Regions from separate parts of the Homo sapiens genome. Here all the other regions are linked to region 2. Evidence: promoter capture Hi-C in 16 types of primary human blood cells and fetal thymus (Javierre and others, 2016). All regions are on one chromosome and are shown on one strand. The core of a region is centred on a gene start or on the middle of the fragment in contact, and the rest is flanking DNA. Distances in the headings are between cores, read along the strand shown.

Region 1 (4,445 bases), core at 302-2,801, 200 kb before region 2:
TTACTGCTTGAGAGCGTCATTACAAGACTGAACGAAGGAGGACGAACGTAGAAATGAAAACTTGAAGCAAAAGAAACTGTTTTAAAGGAAGGGGAACCGAGGAAGAAGAGAGCTCCCGGCTTCTAGTGAGCAAAGGCAGCTAGCTCCCGAGCTTCCACAGCCCTTCCCATTTATTGGTTAGCAAAAGCAGGGAGGAGGAGGTAACGATTGGTCAGCTGCTTAATTGATCACAGGTTCATATTATTATTAACAGGCTTCAGATGTGCCTAATCACAAGAAACACGGCACTTGGGGCGTGACTGCCCTCAGCTTTCCTTCTGGGTGGCAAATGCAGTTTGTCAGTTTGCCAACATTCTGCATTTATGAGAAACAGTTTTGCTGCTTACTCAAATAGCCTCCAGTGGTATACTGAGTTATCACGACCCTCATTCTTTTGGCTTCCAACATGATTCCAAAGCTAAGTCAGCACTTTTTTTTTGTTATAATGCTGTGTCTTCGATTTAATGAAAAATTTAGCCATTCCTTTGCCTAATCCACTTGTTTTTTTGTTTTTTTGTTTTTGAGACTGAGTCTCACTCTGTCACCCAGGCTGGAGTGCAGTGGTGTCATCTTGGCTCAGTGCAACCTCTGCCTCCAGGGTTCAAGCAATTGTTGTGGTTCAGGCTCAGGAGTAGCTGGGATTACAGGAGCGTGCCACTATGCCTGGCTAATTTGTGTATTTTTAGTAGGTTTAGACAGGTTTCACCATGTTGGCCAGGCTGGTCTCTAACTCCTGACCTCAACTGATCCACCCACCTCTGCCTCCCAAAGTGCCAGGATTACAGGCGTGAGCCACTGCACCCCGCCTGTCTGACCCACTTCTGCTTATTATTCAAATCTTTCCCATATTGCAAGAAACAACAATCTTTCTGAAAAATAGTTTGATGATATATAACAAGAGCTTTTAGAAAGATTAGAACCTCTACTCCAGTAATTCCATCTCCAGGAATCTATCCAAAAAACTAATCAGAAAGGCAGTCAAAGACTAGGTACATGAGTGTTCAATAATTACTTATTCACAATAGTGTGAAACTGGAAACGAGCCTACAATTCCAGCAACAGGATGATGTTAGTAAATGCTGGCATTAAAAAAATGCAATGCAGATATCAAAAGTCATGTTTTAGAAGAATATTTACTAACATGAGAATGTGCTTAAGATATAAGTAAAAAAATTAGGCATGACAATATCATATATAGTATAAGCTTCAGTTTTTAAATATCTGGGTAAGGGGTGTTTTTTTTTTCCTTCTATATATTTCCTTGTATTTTCAGAAGTTTCCACAATAAGCATAATTCACCTTTATAATCTGGGAGGAAATGGTTCTTATTTATTTTTTTTTTTAAAGACTATCTTTCCCATAAAGTAAACAAAATAATGGTTTATATAAAGTATGTTTTCAGGGGTGGGTGCAGTGGATCATGCCTGTAATCCCAGCACTTTGGGAGACCAAGGTGGGAGGATTACTTGAGCCCAGGAGTTAGAGACCAGTCTGGCCAACATGTTGAGACCCTCTCGCTACAAAAAATAAAAAATTAGATAATGTGGTGGCTGACTGCCTGTAGTCGCAGCTACTCAGGAGGCTGAGGTGCAAGGTTCACTTTGCCCAGGAGGTCAAGGCTGCCATAAGCCATAATCACACCGCTGCACTCCAGCCTGGGCGACACAGCAAGACTGTCTCAAAAAAGAAAAATAAAAGATAGGTCCTCATAGTGGACCTATTCCTAGTGAACTGACTTATACAATTTTTCTCTGGCTCCAAGTTCCATGGGATAGGGGCTTTAAAAATACACTAAGTTACTTTCATATGTCATTTTCAACAAAGCTTTGAAACACAAATTTTATTTTATCTTATTTTATTTTATTTTTATTTTATTTTTGAGATGAAGTCTTGCTCTGTTGCCCAGGCTGGAGTGCAGTGGCATGATCTTGGCTTACTGCAACTTCTGCCTCCCAGATTCAAGCGATTCTCCTGCCTCAGCCTCCCGAGTAGCTGGGATTACAGGTATGCACCACCACACCTGGCTAATTTTTGTATTTTTAGTAGAGGCAAAGTTTCACCATGTTGCCAGGCTGGTCTCCAACTCCTGACCTCAAGTGATTCTCTCACCTTGGCCTCCCAAAGTGCTGGGATTACAGGTGTGAGCCACCGCACCCGGCCTGAAATAGGTATTTACAATTTCAGTTTTGTAGATGGTGATACAAAAGTTCTGAGAGGTTAAGTAACTTCCCCAAAGTTACACAGAATGTTATTAATGAAAAAAGGAAATATTGAAACCTAGATCTGTTCAGCTCCAGATCTCATCACTTTCCTCCAATACGACATGTACAAGCAGCCACATGACTGAAAGGAAGCACAGTTTCACAGTGTGTGACCTACCGTACGTAGGGGCTCCAACCAGCAGCACTTGTTTCAGAGTCCCATTCATCAGTACGTGGCCACTGGAAAGGGAAGTACCCAGTTTCCCCATTGCCTGTGAGACACAATAAATCAATATTGTATAGGTGAGAAAACTTCCTTGGAGTGTCCACTCTCCTGTGTGGGGAGGGCTTGTCATACCTTGTCTCCAGAAATGGTAAACCAGCTTTGGCCGTTTGGTGGGAAGTAGCCATACACCCTCCCAAGGCTCTTTTTCTCATCTCGGATGTGTAACAAATGGCCCAGCCTAGAATGAAGCACACTGGGCTTAGCTGCCAGGGCACAAGACTGACAGCTGGCCAGGTACTCAGGAGCAAGGAAAGGAAATGCACCTCCCCCCATCCAGGCCTCCCAGCAGGCTCTGTCTCTGCGACCCCAGGCCTGGAAGTGTGGGGACTATTGGAGTTAATCGCAACATCCAGGCTCTCCAGGTGCCACACCCACCATCCTGCCTCCCAACTGACAGGCCTCCCAGCAGACTCTCTGGGATAGAGATATAGGGGTACCTACTGTTATGGGCTCAGTGGTGGTCCCCCCGATCCCTACACTGAAGCCCTAACCCCCAGTATCTCTGAATGTGACTACTTGAAGACAGAGTCTTTAAAGAGGTGATTAAGTTACGATGAGGTCATTTGGGTGGATCCTGATCCAATAGGACTGGTGTCTTTCAAAGAAGAGGAGAGGCAGGAGGATCACTTGAGGCCAGTTTGAGACGAGCCTGGGCAACACTGCAAAAACCCATCCCTATAAAAATGTTTTTAAATTAAAAAAAAAAATTAGCTAGGCATGGGCACACACGACTTGTAGTCCCAGCTATTCAGGAGGCCGAGGCAGGAGGACGAGTTCGAGCCTGCAGTGAGTTACCACTGCCCTCTGCCCTTTGCAACAGAGTGAACCCTCACCCCCTCCTCCCAAAAGAAAAAACAGAAGTGAGGAATGGGGCACAGACACACAGAGAGGGAAGACAGCCATCTGCAAGCCAAGGAGACAGGCCTCAGGAGAAACCAACCCTCTGACCTCAACCTTGATCTTGGACGTCTAGCTTCCAGAACTGTGAGAAAATAATACATTTGTCTATTGTATTTTTAAATTTCTAAGGAGGAGAATTTGCAATCTTGCCCAGAGCCTTGGCTTTTCCTTCAAAAGTCAAGCATTTCCTAGCCCTTTTCCCTCAGCCTCATGCTCAGTGCGCTCCATAGCAGCAGGTACCTGCCCCTGTGTTCATGGTTCCCAGCCCCCAGCATCAGCCTCACCTGCTGGCATTCTTCCAGGTCGGGCTCCCAACCAACAGCAAGGTTCTGTTGTCCACAGTGACACCGTGAAGGGAATATCCAAACCAGGAGAAGTCTTCCTCGCCTCTCACCGTCCAGTTGGCTGCCTCCACGTTCAGTTTTTCTAAAGAAGACAACTCATCCTTTTTACTAATACTTTAAGTGAGAGGACTACTGGGATGAAAAGAAAGGGTCCTTCTCGTAGCCTAATAGAAGTGGGTTCATTTTGCTGAGTTTTTGCCAGAGGTCTTATATGTCCCCATGCTGATCCCAGGACCCCAATGTCATTGAATCTCACTCTTCATACAAGAAATACATTTCTAGAGCTCACTTCTGTGGAGCAGAGGATGCTATTTAAAAAGGCTCTGGGCCAGGTGCGGTGGCTCACACCTGTAATCCCAGCACTTTGGGACGCCGAGGTGGGTGGATCACCAGAGGTCAGGAGTTCAAGACCAGCCTGACCAATATGATGAAACCCCGTCTCTACTAAAAATACAAAAATTAGCCGGGCATGGTGGCATGCGCCTGTAGTCCCCACCTGTAGTCCCAGCTACTCAGGAGGCTGAGACAGAATTGCTTAAACCTGGGAGGTGGAGGTTGTAGTGAGCCAAGATTATGCTACTGCACTCCAGCCTGGGTGACACAGGGAGACTCTGTCTCAAAAAAAAGAAAAAACAACAATAACAACAACAACAACAACAACAGCTATGGACAGTC
Region 2 (4,483 bases), core at 1,330-3,829:
ATGATGATTTGATATCATAAATCAGAACAAGCTTTGGACATGTCAAAATAAATCTATTTTTTAGTACCAAATTATTTTTAAGGTATGAAAAATATTTCCTGAAAAAGAACACATCTCAAAAATAACAACACTTATTGAAGCGTTACTATTAAAACATGCCAGGCAATGAGCAAAGATCTCTTAAACATATTATTGTATTTAATTCTTACAGGAATTTCGTTAAGTAGGTCCCATTGTTATCTCTATTTTACAGGTGAGGAAACTGAGCCTTAGAGGGTTTAGAGAATTTGCCAAATGTGAGACAGCCACTAAGTGGCAGAGCCACGCCCAAACCCACACCCTCTGACCTGGCAATCTGCAGCACTCCGTTCCAGAAACGGGCATACCTGGCTCTACATACAGCAGTGCCTCAATAACATAGTTTCATTCAACGTTGGTGACAAAAAAATTCCTGGCCAGGGCCACTGTCTATGTGGAGTCTGCTCATTCTCCTCATGTCTGCGTGGGTTTTCTCTGGGCTTCGGTTTCCTTCACATCCCAAAGCTGTGCATATGTCTACATGGTCCCCGTCTGAGTGAGTGGGTGTGTCTGTGAAAGTGCACCCTGTGATGGGATAGCTTCCTGGACAGGGGAGAGGGGGGGGTTCCCACTCTGAACCAGGGAGACTCTGGCTACCCATGACCTTGAACTGTAATAATTGGGTAAATAATGATCTTGTTTTTACTAATCCTTCTTAACTGTATGTATAGATCCCATTTATTTCTATGTTTAATATTAGAAGTGTTGTGGTCTTTATTTAGAAGTTTGGTGATTTTTTTATGACCAGAAATATGCTGTAGGAACTTAACTCTTGTTTATATCAATTAGCCTGTGGTAAAATTGGTTTCCTTATACCTCGTTGTGCTTAAAGGTTCACAGTTTCCAAGAACGTATCAAGAATGTTAAGTGAGGACTTACTGTATTTATTTAAAGAGAATGCTTCCTATCTATTGGCTAGGGAAAAAAAAAAAGTCAAGAAAATTTAACAGCAACTCTATTCTTTTACATTCATACATTACCAAAGCTCTCTTTTGGCTATTTTTAATTCATAAAGATTTTGGCTGAATTATTTTCATTATTTCGAAACAAAAATTAAGTTCTTGCCTCGGCATTTTGCATTACAAATGCAAATGCATTACAAATGGTTAATACAAATAAATCAGAGTACTTAGGTAATATGTTTACATTTCCCTTTTTCAAATTACAGAGGAATTCACCTTTCTCTGTGACTCCTACGTCTATAACTGAACTGACACCTCCAGTTTTCCTCATCTGAATTAAAAATAATACTAAAAAAAGCACAAAATAAAAGTTTAGATTTGGCATAACTTTAGTAGTCTCTACAATTGTGGTCTTCTTATAATAAATTGAAGCATTTGGAAAGTGAGCATGTATTTCAGGAATAAAGAAATAAATACCAACATTTACTTCCAAAATTCTTGTGTGTGGGGGGGAACATTGTCTACAATTTATTTTTTCTGTTACTATCAAAAACATCATTCAACTTTTCAATTCAAGCAGTGGAAAAAATACTAACATTTCACCGACAAACAAAAATGTTTTGATGAACAAACCAGCAATAAAAGTGCACATGAGTATGTATATCATATTTTTCCTCCTTGTATTTAATTAACAAATGACCTTAAGATGATAACTCTCAAAATTTCAGGTTTATCCTCCCGATTAATTTGTGACATTCCTTGGAGGGAATTCAAAGGGAAGAAGAGAAAGATTTTAAGCTTCAGGTTATGGTAAGGAACAGAGACAAAATGCATTTAGCAAATAATAGGAAAGATCACATAAATAGTTCTGAATGAAGTTTAAAGAAAACGATTCCTTACTTCTAAAAAAATGCAATTCGTGAGGTTGGGAAAAGACACTCAAATTTCCCCGACTCCACCCTACTAGTCAACAATCAGTGCAGCAATCAAAAAATGCCCTTTCCTGAATGCCCAGAAGAATCTTAAGAAACTCACCTTCTGAACTCAGGGCGTCTCGATTCTACTTTTGTTGGGTATTGGCCTGCCTACTGGCTGCCCTCTTTCCTATTTCTCGGCCAGGCGCTCTGGGAAGTAGATACCGTACCTGTGGTCACTGCTGGCGACACTGAAGCTCGCCCCATGCGTTGCTGCTGGCCCTGAGCATCACTCGCCGTCCCACTTGTTCCTCCTCGTCGTCATCGCAGGTCTTACACACACACACACACACACACACACACACACACACACACACACACACGTTCACACCCTCGCGCGCGCACCTGCTGTTAAGAGGTACAGCCCCACCCCAGCAAAATCCTCGCTTCCTCTTCCCCGGGACGTAGCCCCAGAGGAGCGAATCTGGACCAAGCCCAAGACAGGCTGAAGCTACTGCTGCGCTCTCACCTCCGGCAGTGACAGCGAGCGCCGCCGCCGCTCTGCGCGGGGCCAGCCAGGCCCGCCGAGGGCAGCACAGGTGGAGCAAGGTTGCACCCCCGGGGGATCCCCGCCCACCGCCCGCGGCAGCTTCTGCAGGCTCGGGGAAAGCGCGCGCCAGTGATTCAGCGCCTTTCCGCCGCCGCGGTTACCACGGCGACGCGCGCGCACGCGCACACACGCCCTCAGGGATGTGGGGCGCGGCAGCCGCCCCTGCCCAGCTCCCCTGCTCAGCTCCCCTGCTCAGCTCCCCGGTTGCGCTCTAAGTACCCGCACCGGGGCGACACACTCCCACCCCGCAGGGGACCAAGCAAAAGTCTTTCGTGAACCTGAGCGGCCTTCATACCCTACCTGCTTTCCTTCACCAAGCCCTTCCCTGTCACCGTGGCCCTAAACAGTCTGGGGGATGAACACTCCTTCCAAATAAACACCCGGGCCAGGGTGGCTCAAGGGAGCCGTGGGTGCACTGCCTGGGTCAAACACCCTTCGCGAATGTGTCCCCCAGCTTGTCCCCAGCTTGTGTCACCCCAGCTACACAAGTTCCATTCTTCCAGTGGGAGTCTCTTTGGCCCCTACTCTGTAATTATCTTTCTATTTTGAGCAGGTGCTTTCTGACTGAGACTGGGAACCTGTGCTAGGAGGGGCTCCCATCACCTCCAGGCCTTGCAGGTTAACTGGATGCCCAGTATAGTTTGACATTTGCATCTTGAGGAACGTGATAATCTAAACCACAGAAAACTTGGGTGGAAGACTCTTGCATTTTTACTGTTTTAATAAAGATGCGAAAGCATCTAGGGATAATATCATGAGCAGAAAAGGTAGCCAGGGCATTCCTCGCACATCTCATTACTAGGAGGTATAAGTGCAGTGCTTAGGGCTGAGTCACACACTGTTGATGAATAAGCTTCTTGGCTACTCGTATTTACCGAAGAGCCTCAGACAAGTTACCTAATCTAGATAAACCTGTTTCCTCAATTATAAAATGAAGATAATAGCATTCATATAGGATGATTCTGGGAATCAAATAAGATAATGCACATTTAAAGAGTAAAAACCAGCTGGGTGCGGTGGCTCACGCCTGTAATCCTAGCACTTTGGCAGGCCGAGGCGGGCGGATCACGAGGTCAGGAGATCGAGACCATTCTGGCTAACACGGTGAAACCCCCGTCTCTACTAAAAATACAAAAAATTAACCGGGAGTGGTGGCCCGCGCCTGTAGTTCCAGCTACTTGAGAGGCTGAGGCAGGAGAATCGCTTGAATCCAGGAGGCGGAGGTTGCAGTGAGCCGAGATCGTGCCACTGCACTCCAGCCTGGGCGACAGAGCAAGACTCCGTCTCAAAATAAATAAATAAATAAATAAATAAATAAATAAATAAATAAATAAATAAATAAAAACTAAAGAGTAAAAACCTGTCCAGGACTCAAAGAGTGAAAATCAGCTTGGACTTGGAAAAGTTAGTACTGCCAATGATCAATGATCAGGCTGAGAGGACAAAGTCAGAAGCAAAATTAACAGGCAATGTTGTTTCCTCTGAAGTCACGCAGCAGGTACAAAACAACACAACTCCTTGTGTTCCATTTTTGAATGACTACTACTTTCTACCTTTGCTTTACTATTCCCATCCATAACTGGGGATACCCAATTGCTAAACTCCCTTCACCTCCTGACAGCACCCAATCCCTCATTAATCCCCCTTTCTCTCAATCTGCCTCAGAAACAGCAACCAACTGGATCCCAGCTCTGATTCCAAGACTCTCCCTGGAATCCTTTAATAGGAAGCCAAATCTTTACAAAAGACACTTCCTCCTTTCTGTGCTCACATGGCATTCCACAGGTACTCTTTCAATGCATCAAGCCAATGAATCTGATTTTGTCCCCAACGATCCTTGGCTGATTAGCCTTTAAAGAAACATATTTTTAGCACATACACACACACACAGGCTTAGCCCAGAATGTTTAACTATACCATCTTTTTAACTCAGAGACACTGTAATGAATATCTATTTTCATTTTTAATGAATATATCTA
Region 3 (4,446 bases), core at 312-2,811, 140 kb after region 2:
CATGTAGGGGCTGTTTTGGGGGACATATTTTAAGCTTCTAGTCCCTGGGAACTGACCCTAGTGATGGAGAATTTGTAGGAATTTCCTGTGGAAGATGAGTCTGATTTTTAATTAGGTATCAAATGTTAGTATAGCATGTCAGCCGGGTGTGATGGCTACGCCTGTAATCCCTACACTTTGGGAGGCTGAGGCAGGCAGATCACTTGAGGACAGGAGTTCAACATCAGCCTGGCTAACATGGCAAAATGCTTTGTCTACTAAAAATACAAAAGATTAGTTGGGCGTGGTGGTGCACACCTGTAGTCACAGCTCTTCGGGAGGCTGAGGCACACAAGAATTGCTTGAATCTGGGAGGCAGAAGTTGCAGTGAGCATAGATTGCGCCACTGCACTCCAGCCTCGGCAACAGAGTGAGGCTCTGTCTCAACAAAACAAAAAACATGTCAATGAAAATACCTTGGAGAAGGGGTCAGGGAGTCAATCAAGCCTGGCCCATTAGAACAAGTTCTTTGAAGTTGGTTTAATAAAATGCAGTCGAGCTTCGTTAAGGAAATGGCAAATGGATAAGAATCAGTTGGAAAAACAGTATGCATGAAGCCTGGATTAGACTGAACTAATTTGTCAATATATTTTACAAGGCTAGCATAACTGATATCAAGATTTGAGGATGGACCAGCCAGGTGTGGTGGCTTATGCCTGTAATCCCAGCACTTTGGGAGGCCCAGGTGGGCAGATCACCTGAGGTCAGGAATTCAGGACCAGCCTGACAAACATGGTGAAAACCTGTCTACTAAAAATACAAAATTAGCCAGGCGTGATGGTGCATGCCTGTAGTCCCAGCTATTTGGGAAGCTGAGGCAGGAGAATTGCTTGAACCCAGGAGGTAGAGGATGCAGTGAGCCAAGGTCGCGTCTTTGCACTCCAGCCTGGGCAACGAGCGAAACCTCATCTCAAAAAAAAAAAAAAAAAAAAAAAAAAGAAGGTAATGAGGATGGACCGTAAGGTTGGAGTAGGGGAATCTAGAGCCTTATTAATACAGATTGAAAAATCATAAATAAAATGGCAAGTCTAATCTACTAAAAGATAAAACGATGACCAAGTTAGGGTTTATCTCAGGAATGCAAGACTGCTATAATATTAGTAAACATGAAGTTCTTTATATTAAAGGGGAAAAAGCATATCATCTTAATAGATGGTAAAATAGCATTGATAAAATTCAACACCCTTTCTGGTAAAAACCCTTGGTAAGCTAGGAAAAGAAAAGAATTTTAACCTGAAATAAACTATGCTACCCATGCTTAACATAATGCTTAATGGTGAAGCTTTGGAATTAGTTTCAAGGTCAAGAGCTAGAAAAGGATGGACCACAATTATTTCCAATTCTTTTGGAGGTGGATGCAATGAGACCAAATAAAGGATAATTATAGGAAGGGAAGAGAAAAGCTAATCCAAGAGCAGATAGAAATGAATTTTAAGACTACACCATGGGTAAGATATCTCCCCCAAATAAACTGACGTGTTATTAGAAGAAAGAATAAATTCTAGTGAGCCAAAACGCAACAAACGTCCACCACACTGCCTTACGGCCCTCGTAATTTTGGTTTGTTTAGAAAACTTCCTTGCCTATCCCACACCCTTCAAGATATTTCAGTTGACTTTTAGGTTGTAACTAATTAGGTTGTTAGGTCAACCAAGAAGGATAAGAATTGGTGTATACATATCTGAGCTCCTTGGGACCTCTGGATGAAATAATTCTTAAGGCATGTGTGTTGTGTGTTTACCAGATGGTTCCCCAGCAGGATTAAGCTTCCGTTTACCTACAGTGGCAGCTTTCTTCATAATACATCTTTTATTGGCTTTCTTCCCTTCCCTATTGCTAGTTCCCGAGATCACCTCCCAAATAATATCTTTCAAATCCTTAAGCAAATCCTCTGATTTGCTTCTAGCAAAACTCAAAAGTTGGGAGAGATGAACTTAGGAGGGACAGCAAAGGAAAACAAAATCACTGTTGTTAAAGCTTTGGTAAGCCAGCTTAAAATTCAAGGTTTACAGTAAAAATGCCTCAGCTCGAATCTGAACCTTGTATCTTACCTCCTTCAACTTAAAGAGGTTCCAGAGACCAAAAAGGAATTTGAATAGAACATATTATTAGACTACCTTATAAGCTAATCTTCTGTAGATAAAATGTTAACCAAAATTTCTGTAAACATTGTCACAGAGAGGCCTTCAGCAATTTCTGGTTAAACATGTTAATTGAACAGAGCCATTTAATTTCTGTCTTTCCCAAACATTATTAAAATGACAGTAAGCTGTAAAAAACATCATAATCCCGTGCTGACCAAGCAGAGTCAACAGAAGTTGAGGCAAAAGTCACAATGCAGGGAACAGAATAAAACAAAAGCAAACGATGTAAGTATGGCTAAGCAATTCCATTTCTAGAAATTTATTCAACAGATATGCTCACACATGTGAAATTACACATATTTAAGGTTATTCATTACAACTTTGAACTATCAAAATATTGGAAATAACTTAAATGTTCATCAGTATAGGACTGGTTGTATAAATTACAGTTCACCCTTGAACAAGGCAGCCATTAGGGAAGCCAACACCTGTGCAGTTGAAAATCTGCATATAAATTTTTCTTTTCTTTTTTTTTTTTTTTTTTTTGAGACAGTCTCAGCTCTGTCGCCCAGGCTGGAGTGCAGTGGCACCATCTCAGCTTACTGCAACCTCCGCCTCCTGGGTTCAAGAGATTCTCCTGCCTCAGCCTCCCGAGTACCTGTGACTACAGGCGCGTGCCACCACGCCTGGCTAATATAAATTTTCTTTGGCTATCTTCTGCTTTTAAAATTTAGATAATTTTTCTTTTTTCTTTTTTTTTCTTTTTTTGAGATGGAGTCTGGCTCTATCACCCAGGCTTGCGTGCAGTGGTGTGATCTTGGCTCACTGCAACCTCTGCTTCTGGCTTCCAGTGATTCTCCTGCCTCAGCCTCCCGAGTAGCTGGGATTACAGGCACACACCACCATGTTTGGCTAATTTTTGTATTTTTAGTAGAGATGGGGGTTTCACCATGTTGGCCAGGCTGGTCTCAAACTCCTGGACTCAGGTGATCTGCCCACCTCAGCCTCCCAAAGTGCCAGGATTGCAGGCGTGAGCCACCACACCTGACCTAGATAAATTCTCTGTTTTGAAATTGTTATTTGAGACGGTCTCACTCTGTCACCTGGAGTGCAGTGGCACAATTTTGGCTCACTACAACCTCTGCCTCCTGGGCTCAAGCGATCCTCCTGCCTCAGCCTCCCAAGTAGCTGGGACTATAGGCACACACCACCACACCTGGCTGATTTTTTTTGTAGAGATGTCTCACTATGTTGCCAAGACGGGTCTCGAACTCCTCGATTCAAGCAATCCTCCCATCTAGGCCTCCCAAAGTGTTAGGATTACAGGCATGAGCCCCACCCCACCCGGCTGAAATTAGTTTTTTATTTGAGGCAAGGTCTTATGTTTTTTAGGCTGGGCTCAAGTGATCCACCTGCTTCAGTCTTACAGGTAGCTGAGATTACAGGCATGCCACTATGCTCAGCCTTGCATATAATTTTTTACTCTCTCAAAACTTAATGATTAGCCTAATGTTGACTGGAAGCCTTGCTGATAATATAAACAGTTGATTAACACATATTTTGTATGTTATATGTATTATATCCTGTGTTGTTGTTTTTTTTGTTTTTTGTTTTTTGAGACGGAGTTTCGCTCTGTTTACCAGGCTGGAGTGCAGTGGTGCGATCCGCAACCTCCGCCTCCTGGGTTCAAGCGATTCTCCTGCCTCGGCCTCCTGAGTAGCTGGGACTACAGGCACACACCACCATGCCCGGCTAATTTTTGTATTTTTCGTAGAGATGGGGTTTCACTATGTTGGCCAGGATGGTCTCGATCTCCTGACCTCATGATCCACCCTCCTCGGCCTCCCAAAGTGCTGGGATTACAGGCGTGAGCCACTGCACCCGGCCTATATCCTGTGTTCTTACAATAAAGTAAGGTAGAGAAAAGAATTAAGCCGATCATAAAGAAGAGAAAATATTTTTTACTATTCATTAAGCAGAAGTGGTTCATCATAAGGGTCTTCATCCTCATCATCTTCATATTGAGTAGGCTGAAGGGGAGTCTCGGTGGCAGACTAGCTGTCTCGGGTGGCCGAGGCAGAAGAAAATCTTCATATAAGTGGACCTGAGCAGTTCAAACCCATATTGTTCAAGGGTCAACTGTATAGTACAGTCATACAATGAAATACTCTGAAGCAATGGAAAAGAATCAAACTCTTTAAGATGTAGAACAAAGTGTGAAATAAATTATGTATGTATAGAATGCTACTATATGTTAAAACAAGGACGACGTAAGGGATAGATGTATATTTTCTTATATATAGAAAGAATACTTCTGGAAAGA

What was found. The method cuts DNA at HindIII sites, captures the fragments that hold promoters and counts their contacts. A CHiCAGO score of 5 or more calls a contact.
Region 1: a fragment that was not itself captured here is called in contact with the fragment with the promoter of KIAA0319 in region 2 in 3 of 17 cell types (megakaryocytes, M1 macrophages and total B cells); the score reaches 5.2 in megakaryocytes.
Region 3: a fragment that was not itself captured here is called in contact with the fragment with the promoter of KIAA0319 in region 2 in 1 of 17 cell types (neutrophils); the score reaches 5.2 in neutrophils.

What each region holds. Positions count from the first base shown.
Region 1 is chr6:24,443,128-24,447,572 of GRCh38, forward strand. It overlaps GPLD1 (glycosylphosphatidylinositol specific phospholipase D1), which reads right to left. Exons shown (of 25, transcript NM_001503.4): 18 at 3,711-3,852; 19 at 2,599-2,704; 20 at 2,419-2,512. Among named protein-coding and RNA genes, the nearest start is that of MRS2, 42 kb to the left of the region's middle. The HindIII fragment of the contact is 620 bases long and covers 1,242-1,861 here.
Region 2 is chr6:24,643,612-24,648,094 of GRCh38, forward strand. It overlaps KIAA0319, which reads right to left and starts at 2,580. Exons shown (of 21, transcript NM_014809.4): 1 at 2,125-2,580. RefSeq lists a silencer at 2,425-2,634. The HindIII fragment of the contact is 1,579 bases long and covers 1,777-3,355 here.
Region 3 is chr6:24,788,641-24,793,086 of GRCh38, forward strand. LOC124901280 (a long non-coding RNA gene) reads right to left here. Exons shown (of 3, transcript XR_007059510.1): 3 at 4,159-4,227. Among named protein-coding and RNA genes, the nearest start is that of ARMH2, 8.1 kb to the right of the region's middle. The HindIII fragment of the contact is 484 bases long and covers 1,320-1,803 here.